2 separate regions of the Homo sapiens genome follow, and region 1 is linked to region 2. Evidence: promoter capture Hi-C in human tissues and cell types (Jung and others, 2019). All regions are on one chromosome and are shown on one strand. Each heading gives the region's core, a stretch centred on a gene start or on the middle of the fragment in contact. The rest is flanking DNA. Distances are from core to core; before and after follow the strand shown. Region 1 has its middle 45 kb from the start of LINC01144. Region 2 holds the start of PLK3 (polo like kinase 3).

What was found. Contacts are between HindIII fragments. The study calls those that stand out against the background at their distance.
Region 1: a contact is called between a fragment that was not itself captured here and the fragment with the promoter of PLK3 in region 2, in 2 of the 25 tissues and cell types used here (adrenal gland and dorsolateral prefrontal cortex).

What each region holds. Positions count from the first base shown.
Region 1 is chr1:45,256,158-45,261,947 of GRCh38, reverse strand. No RefSeq gene overlaps it. Among named protein-coding and RNA genes, the nearest start is that of LINC01144, 45 kb to the left of the region's middle. The HindIII fragment of the contact is 5,578 bases long and covers 129-5,706 here.
Region 2 is chr1:44,797,388-44,802,972 of GRCh38, reverse strand. PLK3 (polo like kinase 3) reads right to left here and starts at 2,596. Exons shown (of 15, transcript NM_004073.4): 1 at 2,300-2,596; 2 at 2,026-2,133; 3 at 1,821-1,937; 4 at 1,222-1,351; 5 at 1,041-1,128; 6 at 118-213; 7 at 1-18. The coding sequence starts at 2,509. RefSeq lists enhancers at 1,920-1,969, 2,740-3,129, 3,180-3,239, 2,924-3,592 and a silencer at 2,360-2,639. The HindIII fragment of the contact is 15,221 bases long and covers 1-5,585 here.

The DNA of each region.
Region 1 (5,790 bases), core at 1,668-4,167, 460 kb before region 2:
GCCTCCATTTTGGCAGCAATGTATGAGAGTTCCAGTTTCTCCAAATCTTCGAATCTTGCTATTGCTACACTTTTAAATCTTAGCCAATTTGATGGCATAAATTAGCGTATTTCACTGTTGTTTTAATTTGCATTGTAATTTTAAAGTTTATTAATCTTTTATTTTATAGTTAGAAGATATGGAATCTTGTTTAAGAAATCTTACTCTATCCTGAGGTAAAAAAATTCTCCTATATTTTCTTCTAAATGATTTATACAGGTTTTTCTTCACATTCAAGTCCTTGACATGGAGTTAATTTTTTGGGTTTTTTTGAGACAGAGTCTTGCTCTGTCGCCCAGGCTGGAGTGCGGTGGTGCAATCTCGGCTCACTGCAGCCTCCACCTCCCGGGTTCCAGTGATTCTCCTGCCTCAGCCTCCTGGATAGCTGGGATTATAGGCACACGTCACCATGCCTGGCTAATTTTTGTATTTTTAGTAGAGATGGGGTTTCACCATGTTGGTCAGGCTGGTCTTGAACTCCTGACCTCAGGTGATCTGCCTGCCTTGGCCTCCCAAAGTGCTGGGATTGCAGGCATGAGCCATGGTGCCTGGCTGGAGTTGATTTTTTATAAATGCTATGAGGTAGGGATCAATATGGGTAACTGACTGCCCAAAAATCATTTATTGAATAACTCAACATTTCCCCCACTGATTCATAAGGCTACCTTATAATATATCAAGTTTCCATTTAGATGTATGTCTGTTTCAGGGCTTTTTAATTCTATTTTTTGGTGGACATTTAGGTCCTTATCTTACTAGACTTCTTGGCATTGGATCCTGTTGACCCTCTCCTAAACATTGTACTCTCCTGACTTCAACAATGGTTCTTGTCTTTCCTCCTTTCTCTGACTGCCTTGTAAATGTTGGTTTTCCTCAGGGGCCATTCTCTCTACACAGCTTTTCTCACTCTACACCACAGGGAGAAATATTTTTTGCCTAAAAGCGAACTCAAGGAAAACAGAAATGTTTACTGGGTGCAGCTGTTTAATTATGCTTTTAATTTCAGAATAGTTTCAAATGTAAACAAAAGTTGTGAAGATAGGGCAGAGAATTCTCACATACCCCTCACTCAGTTTCCCCTATTGTTAACATCCTATATTACCATGGGACATATATCACAACTAAGAAATCAACATTGGTACGTGACTATAAATTAAACACTTTATTAGCATTTCACCAGTTTTCCCCCCAAAGTCCATTTGCTGTTTGAGGATCCTCTTCAGGACACCACATTACATTCTGTCATCATGTCTCCCTAGCTTCTTCTGGTCTGTGATAGTTTCTCATACTTTGTTGTCCTTGATGACTTTGACAGTTTTGAGAAGCACTGGCCAGGGTTTGTTTGTTTTTGCAAATGTCCGTATTTGTCCAGTGTTTTTCTCATGGTTAGACTGGGGTCATAGGTTTTGGAAAAAATCACAGAGGTGAAATACCATTCTCATCCCATCATATTGTTACTGAACCAGGCTTCTTCTTCCTGTCATGCAGTATGTCAATCACTGAGATGATGTGTTTTGCTGCAGAGGAAGAGTTTATTCATGAGGCAGCCAAACAAGGATATGGGAAAACAGGTCTCAAATCTGCCTCCCTGAAGATGGAATTTTAGGGATATTTATAGAATAGAGGAGCAAGATGGTCCAAAGCATGGGGAAAGGTGATCGTGGTAAGGAAAACTGAGGTAATTGGTCATCTGTGCAAGCATAACAGACTTCATGGCTCTTCATAGAATATATGTTCAGAAAATTACAGCATTAGCATGATCTGAGGGTGGAGTTTTTGGCCCTCTGACATCAAAAGGTGACCCATCAGATGCTCACACAGGCCCAGTTGAAAGGTTGGTGGTCTCAGCTGGCTTGAACTGGACAAGAACTGACTCTCTAAGTTCCTGAAAAACAACTTAAGCAACCATTACCATGGTGATCTATACATCAGAAATGTTATCTACAAGAAAGCTAGTGGAAATTTAGTTATATATTACTTAGCAATGTGACTTTTAGCTATATAGGTTTTAAAATCAACTAAAAGCAAATTAATAAAGACAAGTAAGGTAAGTTAAATTTGGTGGGCCTAATTGGGTTTGTCCTCAGTTTCAATATCAAGGGTACATTGCCATTAACATGAGGTATTAGTCTTCTCTCACACTGCTATGAAGAAATACCAGAGACTGGGTAATTTATAAAGAAATGAGGTTTAATTGGCTGATGGTTCTGCAGACTGTATAGGAAGCATGGCAGCTTCTGGAGAGGCCTCAGGAAACTTATAATCATGGTGGAAGGTGAAGGTGAAGCAAGGCATCTCACATGGCCAGACCAAGAGGAAGAGAGAGAGGGGGAAGGTGCTACACACTTTTAAACAACCAGATCTCATGAGATCTCACTCACTATCATGAGAACAGCAACCAGGGGGATGGTATTAAGCCATCCATGAGAAACACTCTCATGATTCAATTACCTTCCACCAGGCCCCACCTCCAACATTGCGGATTACAATTTGACATGAGAGTTGGACAGGAACACAGATCCAAACCATATCATTCTACCCCCAGCCCCTCCCAAATCTCATGTCATTTTCACATTTCAAGGTACAACCATGCGTTCCAACAGTCCCCCAAAATTTTAACTTATTCTAGCATTAACCCAAAAGTCCAAAGTCCAAAGTCCAAAGTCTCATCTGAAACGGGAAGTCCCTTCCACCTATGAGTCCGTAAAATCAAAAACAAGTTAGTTACTTCCAGAGACAGTGGGGGTATAGCTGTTGTGTAAATCAAGCTTGTCCAACTCATGGCCCATGGGCCACATGCAGCCCAGGACAGCTTTGGACATGGCTCAACACAAGTTTCTTAAAACACTATGAGATATGTTTTGCAATTTTTTTTTAGCTTATCAGCTCTCGTTAGTGTTAGTGTATTTTATATGTGGACCAAGACTATTCTTCTTCCACTGTGGCTCAGGGAAGCCAAAAGATTGAACACCCCTGGGGTAAATACTCCTATTTCAAAAAGGAGAAATCAGCCAAAAGAAAGGGGCTACAGGCACCATGCAAGTCCAAAACCCAGCAGGGCAACCATTAAATCTTAAAGCTCAAAAATAATCTCCTTCGAATTCATGTCTCACATCCAGGGCACTCTGATGCAAGGGAAGGGGCTCCCAAGGCCTTGGGAAGCTCTGCTCCTGTGGCTTTGCTGGTTCAGCCCCCAGAACAACTGCTCTCAGGGGCTGGCATTGAGTGCCTATGGCTTTCCAGGCACAGGGTGCAAGCTGCCAGTGGATCTTCCATTCCAGGGTCTGGAGGATGATAACCCTCTTCTCACAGCTCCACTAGGCAGTGCCTCAGTGGGGACTCTGTGTGTGGGGTCCAACCTCATATTTTCCCTCTGCATCACCCTAGAAGAGGTTCATCATGAGGGCTCCACTCCTGCAGCAGGCTTCTGCCTGGACATACAGGGTTTTCCATACATCCTCTGAAATCTAGGCGGAGGCTCCCAAGCCTCAACTTGTGTACTCTGTGCACCTGTAGGCTTAACACCATGTGCAAACTGTCAAGGCTTATTACTTGCACTCTCTGAAGCAGTGGCCCAAGCTGTACTTGGGCCCTTTTTAGCCACAGCTAGAGTTAGAGTGGCTGGCACACAGGCAGCAGTGTCCCAAGGCTGTCCTGTGCCTGGCCCACAAACCATTTTGTCCTCCTAGACCTCCAGGCCTGTGATGGGAGGGGATGCCTTGAAGGTCTCTGAAATGCCTTTGAAGCTCTTCCCCCATTGTCTTGGATATTATCACTTTGCTCCTCTTTACTTATGAAAATTTCTGCAGCCTGCTTGAATTCCTTTCCTGAAAATGGGCCTTTCTTTTCTACCACATGGCCAGGCTGCAAATGTTCCAAATTTTAATGCTCTGCTTCCCCTTTAAATATAAGTTTTAGTTTCAGGTCATTTCTTTGTTCATACATATGAGCTATAGGTTGTTAGAAGCAGCCAGGCCACGTCTCAAACACTTTTCTGCTTAGAACTTTCTTCCACCAGATACCCTAAATCATCTCTTTCAAGTTCAAAATTCCATAGATCCCTAGGGCAGGGGCACAATCCAACCAAGCTCTTTGCTAAAGCATAGCAAAAGTGACCTTTGCTCCAGTTCACGATAAGTTCCATATTTCCATCTGAGACCTCCTCAGCCTGTCCAATATCTGTCCATGTCACTATCAGCATTTTGGTCACAACTATTCAACAAGTCTCTAGAACGTTCCAAATTTTCCCTCATCATCTTTTCTTCTTCTGAACCCTCCACACTCTTCCAACCTCTGCCCATTACCCAATTCCAAAGTTGCTTCCACATTTTCAGGTGTCTTTATAGCAATGCCCCACTCCTCAATACCAACTTTCTGTATTAGTCTATTCTTGCACAGCTATAAAGAAATACCTGAGACTGGGTAATTTATAAAGAAAAGAGGTTTAATTGGCTCATTGTTCTGCAGGCTGTACAGGAAGCATAGCAGCTTCTTGGGAGACCTCAGAAAGCTTCCAATTATGGTGGATGGTGAAGGGAGAGCAAGCATGTCACATGGTGAAAGCAGGAGCAAGAAAGAGAGGGGAAGGAGGTGCCACACACTTTTAAATGACCAGGTGTCACAAGAACTCACTTACTATGGTGAGGACAGCACCAAAATGATGGTGCCAAACCACTCACAAGAAGTTCACCCCCATCATATAATCACCTCCCACCAGGCACCACCTCCAACATTGGGGATTACAATTCAACATGAGACTTGGGCCGGGACACAGATCCAAACCATATCACATGACCTGTCAGTGATGATGTTAACCTTGATAACCAAGCTGAGTTAGTATTTGACAGGTTTCCTTACTATATAGTTGTCCTCCACCTCTCCTCTCTTGTTGCATTTAAAAATTTTTAAATGGAATAAAAAATGAAATGGAAAACTAAATGAAGCTTTATTAAATACCATGGGGGAGTGTGCAGGTGCAGTGGCTCATGCCTGTAATCCCAGCACTTTGGGACACCAAGGCAGGTGGATCACTCGAGCTCAGGAGTTTAATCCCAGCCTGGGCAACATGGCAAAACCCTGTCTCTATAAAAACAAAAATTAACTAGGTGCAGTGGTGGGTGCCTGTAGTCCCAGATACTTGGGAGGCTGAGGTGAAAGGATCACTTGAGCCTGGGAGGCAGAGGTTGCAGTGAGCCAAGATCATGCCACTGCACTCCAGCCTGGGTGATAGGAGTGAAACCCTATACCCCCCACCCCCGCCAAAAAAAAATACCATGGGAAGAAATTATATTATTGGAACGTAGGTTATTCACTATTCACCAGAAGTTTGTCCTAGAGAAATTGGCATTACTTTTTAATCCATTAATATTTTAGAGTCTGGGTATATTTGGCCTTATCACTTCCCTTGGTTTTAACTACCATCTATAAGTTGATGACTCACAAATCTTCCCAGGTCCTGATCACTCCCTGCATCTGAAACCACCCTTGCAGAATTATAAGTAATGAGAGATAAATCTTTTTTTTTTTTTTTTTTTTTTTTTGAGACAGGGTCTTGTTCTGTTACCCAGGTTGGAGTGCAGTGGTGTAATCTTGGTTCACTGTGACCTCTGCCTACTGTGTTCAAGCAATTCTCCTGCCTCAGTGTCCTGAGTAGATGGGATTACAGTTGCACACCACCGTGCTCAGCTAATTTTTGTATTTTTTTTTAAGTAGAGACAGTGTTTCGCCATGTTGGCCAGGCTGATCTCAAAC
Region 2 (5,585 bases), core at 1,347-3,846:
CCGCAGAGCAGCGTGTACCTATAGGGCAGGGCCAAGGGGTCAGGAGTAAAGTGGAGGAGATGCTCCACCCACACACCCACCACCTGTCTGCTGCTGAACCTGGACCCTGCAACTCACATGACACAGCCCAGTGACCATACATCCGCCTCAGGGCCGTGGCCCTGTCTCAGCAGCACTTCTGGAGCCACATAGTTGGGGGTGCCACAGATGGTCCTGAAAGAGGGTGGGGAGGAGGAGAGAAGGCTGAGACCCAGCCCAGCAGCCCCCCGACTCCTTCCCCCACTGTTAGTCCAGACAAAGCAGCTGCCTGTCACCAAAGGCCAGAGAACTCCTGCTTGTCCTGGGACAATGGATGCCAGGGATGGCAGCTGAGTCCCCGCCCACCCGCCTGGCCCAGCTGCTCAGCTGCTCTTCATGACAGGGGGAGGGCCTGACCCCCAGCCCAGTCCTCTCCTCTAGGGTCAACACAGAGAGTCCACAGCTGATCCCTTCCCCCTTCCTGCACTCCTGTCTGTCAGACAGGCATCAGGCTGTCACCTCCCACGGTTTGTGCCACACACACACCAACACCAGCTGTCACAACCCCCATAAACACTCATCTGCCACATACGCTATCTGTGTCACACACACAAAGTATGATGGCCACAGCAGGGTCTTCTTACACCCACAATGTCATATCCCACCATTTCCACACTCTCAGTCTGTCTCTCACACACACATACACGCTGCCTGTCACCTTCCCCCATCCACACAAAGGGTAAGTCATGTGCCTCCAAGAATCTGTATACCCCCATCTGTCTCAGGGACTCAGAGTCACCTACCCTATCTGTGTCATACACCTATAGGATCCTCCCCCTCTCCACCGGTCTCGGTAACACAGGCTGCCACCTCCACCTTCACACATGCATGAACAGCCCATCATCCCTTCCCATTTATCTCATGCACACATCAGGCAGTCACCTTGCCTCCCACATACATATGCACTGTCTATCACGCATGTCATCTGTATCACACACAGGGCCCCTTTCCTCAAAACTCACTTCTTCCTCTGCTCCGGAGGCTCCAACCGGGCTGCCAGCCCAAAATCCCCCACCTTCAGTTCCATGTTCTCAGTGATGAAAAAATTTCCTAGATGGGGCAAGAGAGGTGTGTCAGATTCTTTCCTTCCTCCCTCCCTCCCTCCCTCCCCAACCTCCCATCCTCCAGGCTCAGGAGTCTCACCCAACTTGAGGTCCCGGTGCAAGATGCCGCGCTGGTGCAAGTACTTGAGGCCAGAAAGGATCTGCCGCAGGTAGTAGCGCACTTCTGGCTCCAACAGGGTGTGCCGGGCCTTCCAGATGTGGGCCAGGGACTGCAGAGAGCCACTGCCTCAGCCCCTGGTGAGCCCTCCCTCCCCCTCCCCCTCCATCTGTGCTCCCTGAGGAAGAAACAGGGCCCCAGCTTTGGGTCTTAAGACTGTCTTCTCGGCTGGGTGTAGTGGCTCACGCCTGTAATCCCAGCACTTTGGGAGGCCAAGGCAGGTGTATCACAAGGTCAGGAGTTTGAGACCAGCCTGACCAACAGGGTGAAACCCTGTCTCTACTAAAAATACAAAAATTAGCCGGGCGTGGTGGTGCATGCCTGTAATCCCAGCTACTCAGGAGGCTGAGGCAGGAGAATTGCTTGAACCCGGGAGGCAGAGATTGCAGTGAGCCGAGATCGCGCCACTGCACTCCAGCCTGGGCAACAGAGCAAGACTCCATCTCAAAAAAAAAAAAAAAAAAAAAAAAGACTGTCTTCTCTCCCTCACTCTCATCCCTGCGGGAATCACCATCTTTCACCTTTCGGCTGCAGAGCTCCAAGAAAATGTAGATGTTGTCAGCGTCCTCAAAGTGGTGCGAAAAACGCACGATGTGGCGGTGCTGCAGGTCTCGGTGCAGCTCAATCTCATTTAGGATCTGCGATGAGGGCGCGGAGTCGTCATCCTTCCATGGTTCCCATGCCACCGTCCCCACCCCACCCCTCGCCCGCTGAGCCTGGACCCACCTTCTCGCGCTGATGCGGCTTGGCGACGCGGCTCTGCGGGATGACTTTGACAGCGTAGGCGCTGCCAGTCTCTGTGTCAGTGGCCTCGTAGCAGCGGGCGAAGCCCCCCTGTGAAGAGGGGGCATCAGGCTGGTTGTTCCAGGGGGGCCGAGTCTGGCCCGCGGGCGTCCCCGCGTTGGGGGTCAAGTGCCCACGCCCTGCTCGGCGCCAGAAAAGAGGCCGGCCGGGACCCCCACCTCCACCATCACCACCCCGCGGACGTCCCTCGGCCCACCTTGCCCAACAAGCGGCCTTTGAGGTAGGTGCGGCCGCTGCGCGGGTCCGTGATGAGGCGCCCGGGGTCTGACGTCGGTAGCCCGGCCAGCATCTCCAGCTCAGGTCCGCGCAAGGCACTCGGAGGCGGCCCGGGCCCGGCCGGGGGAGCGGGCGCGGCGGCCGCACGCTGGAAGGGGCGCGGAGACAGGAAACCGGCGGCAGGCTCCATGCGGCCGGCGCGTCGCAGCGCGGTCCCGGCTTCTCGGTTCCGCCCGGCCCCGGCCGCGCGTGGCGCTGCCTGGATTTGCTACGCTGCGCTGGCGCCCAGGGGAGCCCAGCGTTTTATCAATGAACGCCTGCCCCCTCCCCGGCGTCTGGTCACCGAGAGTCCCGCCCCCTTCCTAGCAGCGAGTCGAGGAGAGGCCACTCCCATTCCCGGCCTTACATCACCCAGAAGCTCCTCCCCCACCCAACGCACTGCCAGACCCCGCCTCCTCGCCGCGCCCCGGGGCGCAGCCCGGCAGCTAGTCACCATGCAGGTGCAACCAGGCCGCAGGGGCCAGCTGATCCCTGTCCGCCTCTCACCCCTCCTTGGCCACTGCGAGTCCCGCTCGTGGGGGCCTCTTTCTTTCCCCATCCTTCGGGATGTGTGCTGAAGTCCGAGTGGGGCCCGGGCATCTGGGGGCGTCTCCCCAGCAACTAGATAGATCAGCGTTCCAGCCAGCAGCGGAGAGGCAGGGGCGGCGCTCGCTTTTGCCCGGGCATGTTACCCGACACTCCCCTTTCAGTGTGCCGGACCGCGTGTGTCCCTCGCCCTCGCCCGGGGCCCGGCCCAGTGCTGCCCTCTTTAGGGCCTGGAAGGAAGGCACAGTCTCGCGCCTGGCTTGCCTGGCCCGAGGGCTGCCTTGCCAGGTTTAGGAGTCAAGCAGAGTCTGGAATTTCAAGGCTTTTACCATGCTCCAGGCCACATCTTCCGCTACCCACTTCTACACTCTTGAGGGGCAAATTTCGGGTTCCTCCGGGGTCCGCAATTCCCTTCCTCTGAAAATACCCCCGGGCCTGGGTCAGCAGCCAGAGGCCAGAAAGTGAATGGGAATTGGATTTTCTTTTTTCTTTCTTTCTTTCTTTTTTTTTTTTTTGAGACAGAGTTTCGCTCTTGTTGCCTAGGCTGGAGTGCAATGGCGCGATCTTGGCTCATCGCAAACTCTGCCTCCCAGGTTCAAGCGATTCTCCTGCCTCAGCCTCCCGAGCAGCTGGGATTACAGGCATGCGCCATCACACCCGGCTAATTTTGTATTTTTTTTTTTTTAAGTAGAGACGGGGTTTCTCCATGTTGGTCAGACTGGTCTGGAACTCCCAACCTCAGGTGATCTACCCGCTTCGGCGTCCCAAAGTGCTGGGATTACAGGCGTGAGCCACCTTGCCTGGCTGGGAATTGCATTTTCTCAAATGCTAGACACGGGCACTTGGGCAGCTAGTCTCTGGACCACGTGGACCCCTAGACCCCTGCGCAATGCCCACCCTTCCCAGGGCCAGAGACAGAGGCCCAGGACCACAGGCCTCCTGGCCTTGTCTCTCACCTCTCTGCCCTCCCTCTGTGCCAGCCAATCAATTACCATGCCATTCCTCAAAGATTTATTGAGAGCATCTGCTAAGTGCTGGACACTATCTCGAATAAAACTAATCAAGCTTGCAGCCCTCATTTAGTTTACATTCTGCTTGATGGAAACAGACAATAGGCAAGCAGATAAACAAGGTAATTGCAGGCTGTGAAAAGTGCTATGAAGGAAGAATAAACAGAAGAGCAAATGAAGAGCCTACTTTAGAAAGAGTAGCCAGGAAAGTCAACAAATATTTGCTGAGTACCCAATTTGTGCCAATTTTACCTCCCAAATAGCTCTGATATCTATCCCCTTGGCTCCATCTTCCCCTCACACCCTGGCCTGGGCCACAGTCTCTCTTGTCAGGATGATTGCCACAGCTCCTTGCTGCTCTCCTGGCCTTTGGTCTCATGCCCATTTCATCCCCTCCATATGCTATTAGAGGGATCCCACCCAATCCCTCATCAGACTCACGAGGGCAAACTTCTCCAACCTTGTCCTTCATGACCACTGAAGGGAGACCCACGATAGCCTCAGATGTGGAGAAATACTAGTAGCCAAAATTACTGAGGGGGAGTTGGGGATAGGGATGGGCAGGAAGACCCTAAGTGCCTGCTCAAGAGTCTGGTCTTTATCCTTATAGGTCAGCAGTCTTCCAGAGGGGAGATGGTGGTGGGGCTAGAAAGGACAAATCCCCAGGGTAAATGGATCTGAGGCATTTAGAGAGTCAAAAAGGCATATTCAATTTTGCACCGTTATTTATTTTGTTTTGTTTTGTTTTGTTTGTTTTTTGAGACAGAGTCTTGCTCTGTTACCCAGGCTGGAGTGCAGTGATGCGATCCTGGCTCACTGCAACCTCTGCCTCCCCGGTTCAAGCGATTCTCCTGCCTTAGCCTCCAGAGTAGCCAGGATTACAGGCTCGTGCCACCACGCCCAGCTAATTTTTGTATTTTTTAGTAGAGACAGGGTTTCACCATATTGGCCAGGCTGGTCTCAAACTCCTGACCTTGTGATCCACCCACCTCGGCCCTCCCAAAGTGCTGGGATTACAGGCATAAGCCACTGTGCCTGGCCCAAAATTCGTGTATATATATATATATATATATATTTTTTTTTTTTTTCTTTTTTTTTGAGACAGAGTCTTAAAAAAAAAAGAATCACTTGATCCCAGGAGGGGGAGGTTGCAGTGAGCTGAGATCGTGGCACTGCATTCCAATCTGGCAACAGAAGGAGACTCCATCTAAAAAATAATAATAATAATAAAATAAATAAATTTTGGGGCCGTGCAGTGGTGGCTCATGACTGTAATCCCTGCACTTTGGGAGGCTGAGACAGGCAGATCGCTTGAGTCCAGGAGTTTGAGACCAGCCTGGGAAGCATAGTGAAACCCCCGTCTCTACCAAAAAAATGCAAAAATTGGGCCAGCCGCAGTGGCTCATGCCTGTAATCCCAGCACTTTGGGAGGCCGAGGCAGGCAGATCACCTGAGGCCAGGAGTTCGAAACCAGCCTGACCAATGTGGTGAAACCCCGTCTCTACTAATAATACAAATATTAGTCTGGCGTGGTGGCACCCACCTGTAATCCCAGCTACTCAGGAGGCTGAGGCAGGAGAATCGCTTGAACCTGGGAGGTGGAGGTTGTAGTGAGCCAATATCGCCCCATTGCACTCCAGCCTGGGTGACAGAGTGAGACTCTATCTCAAA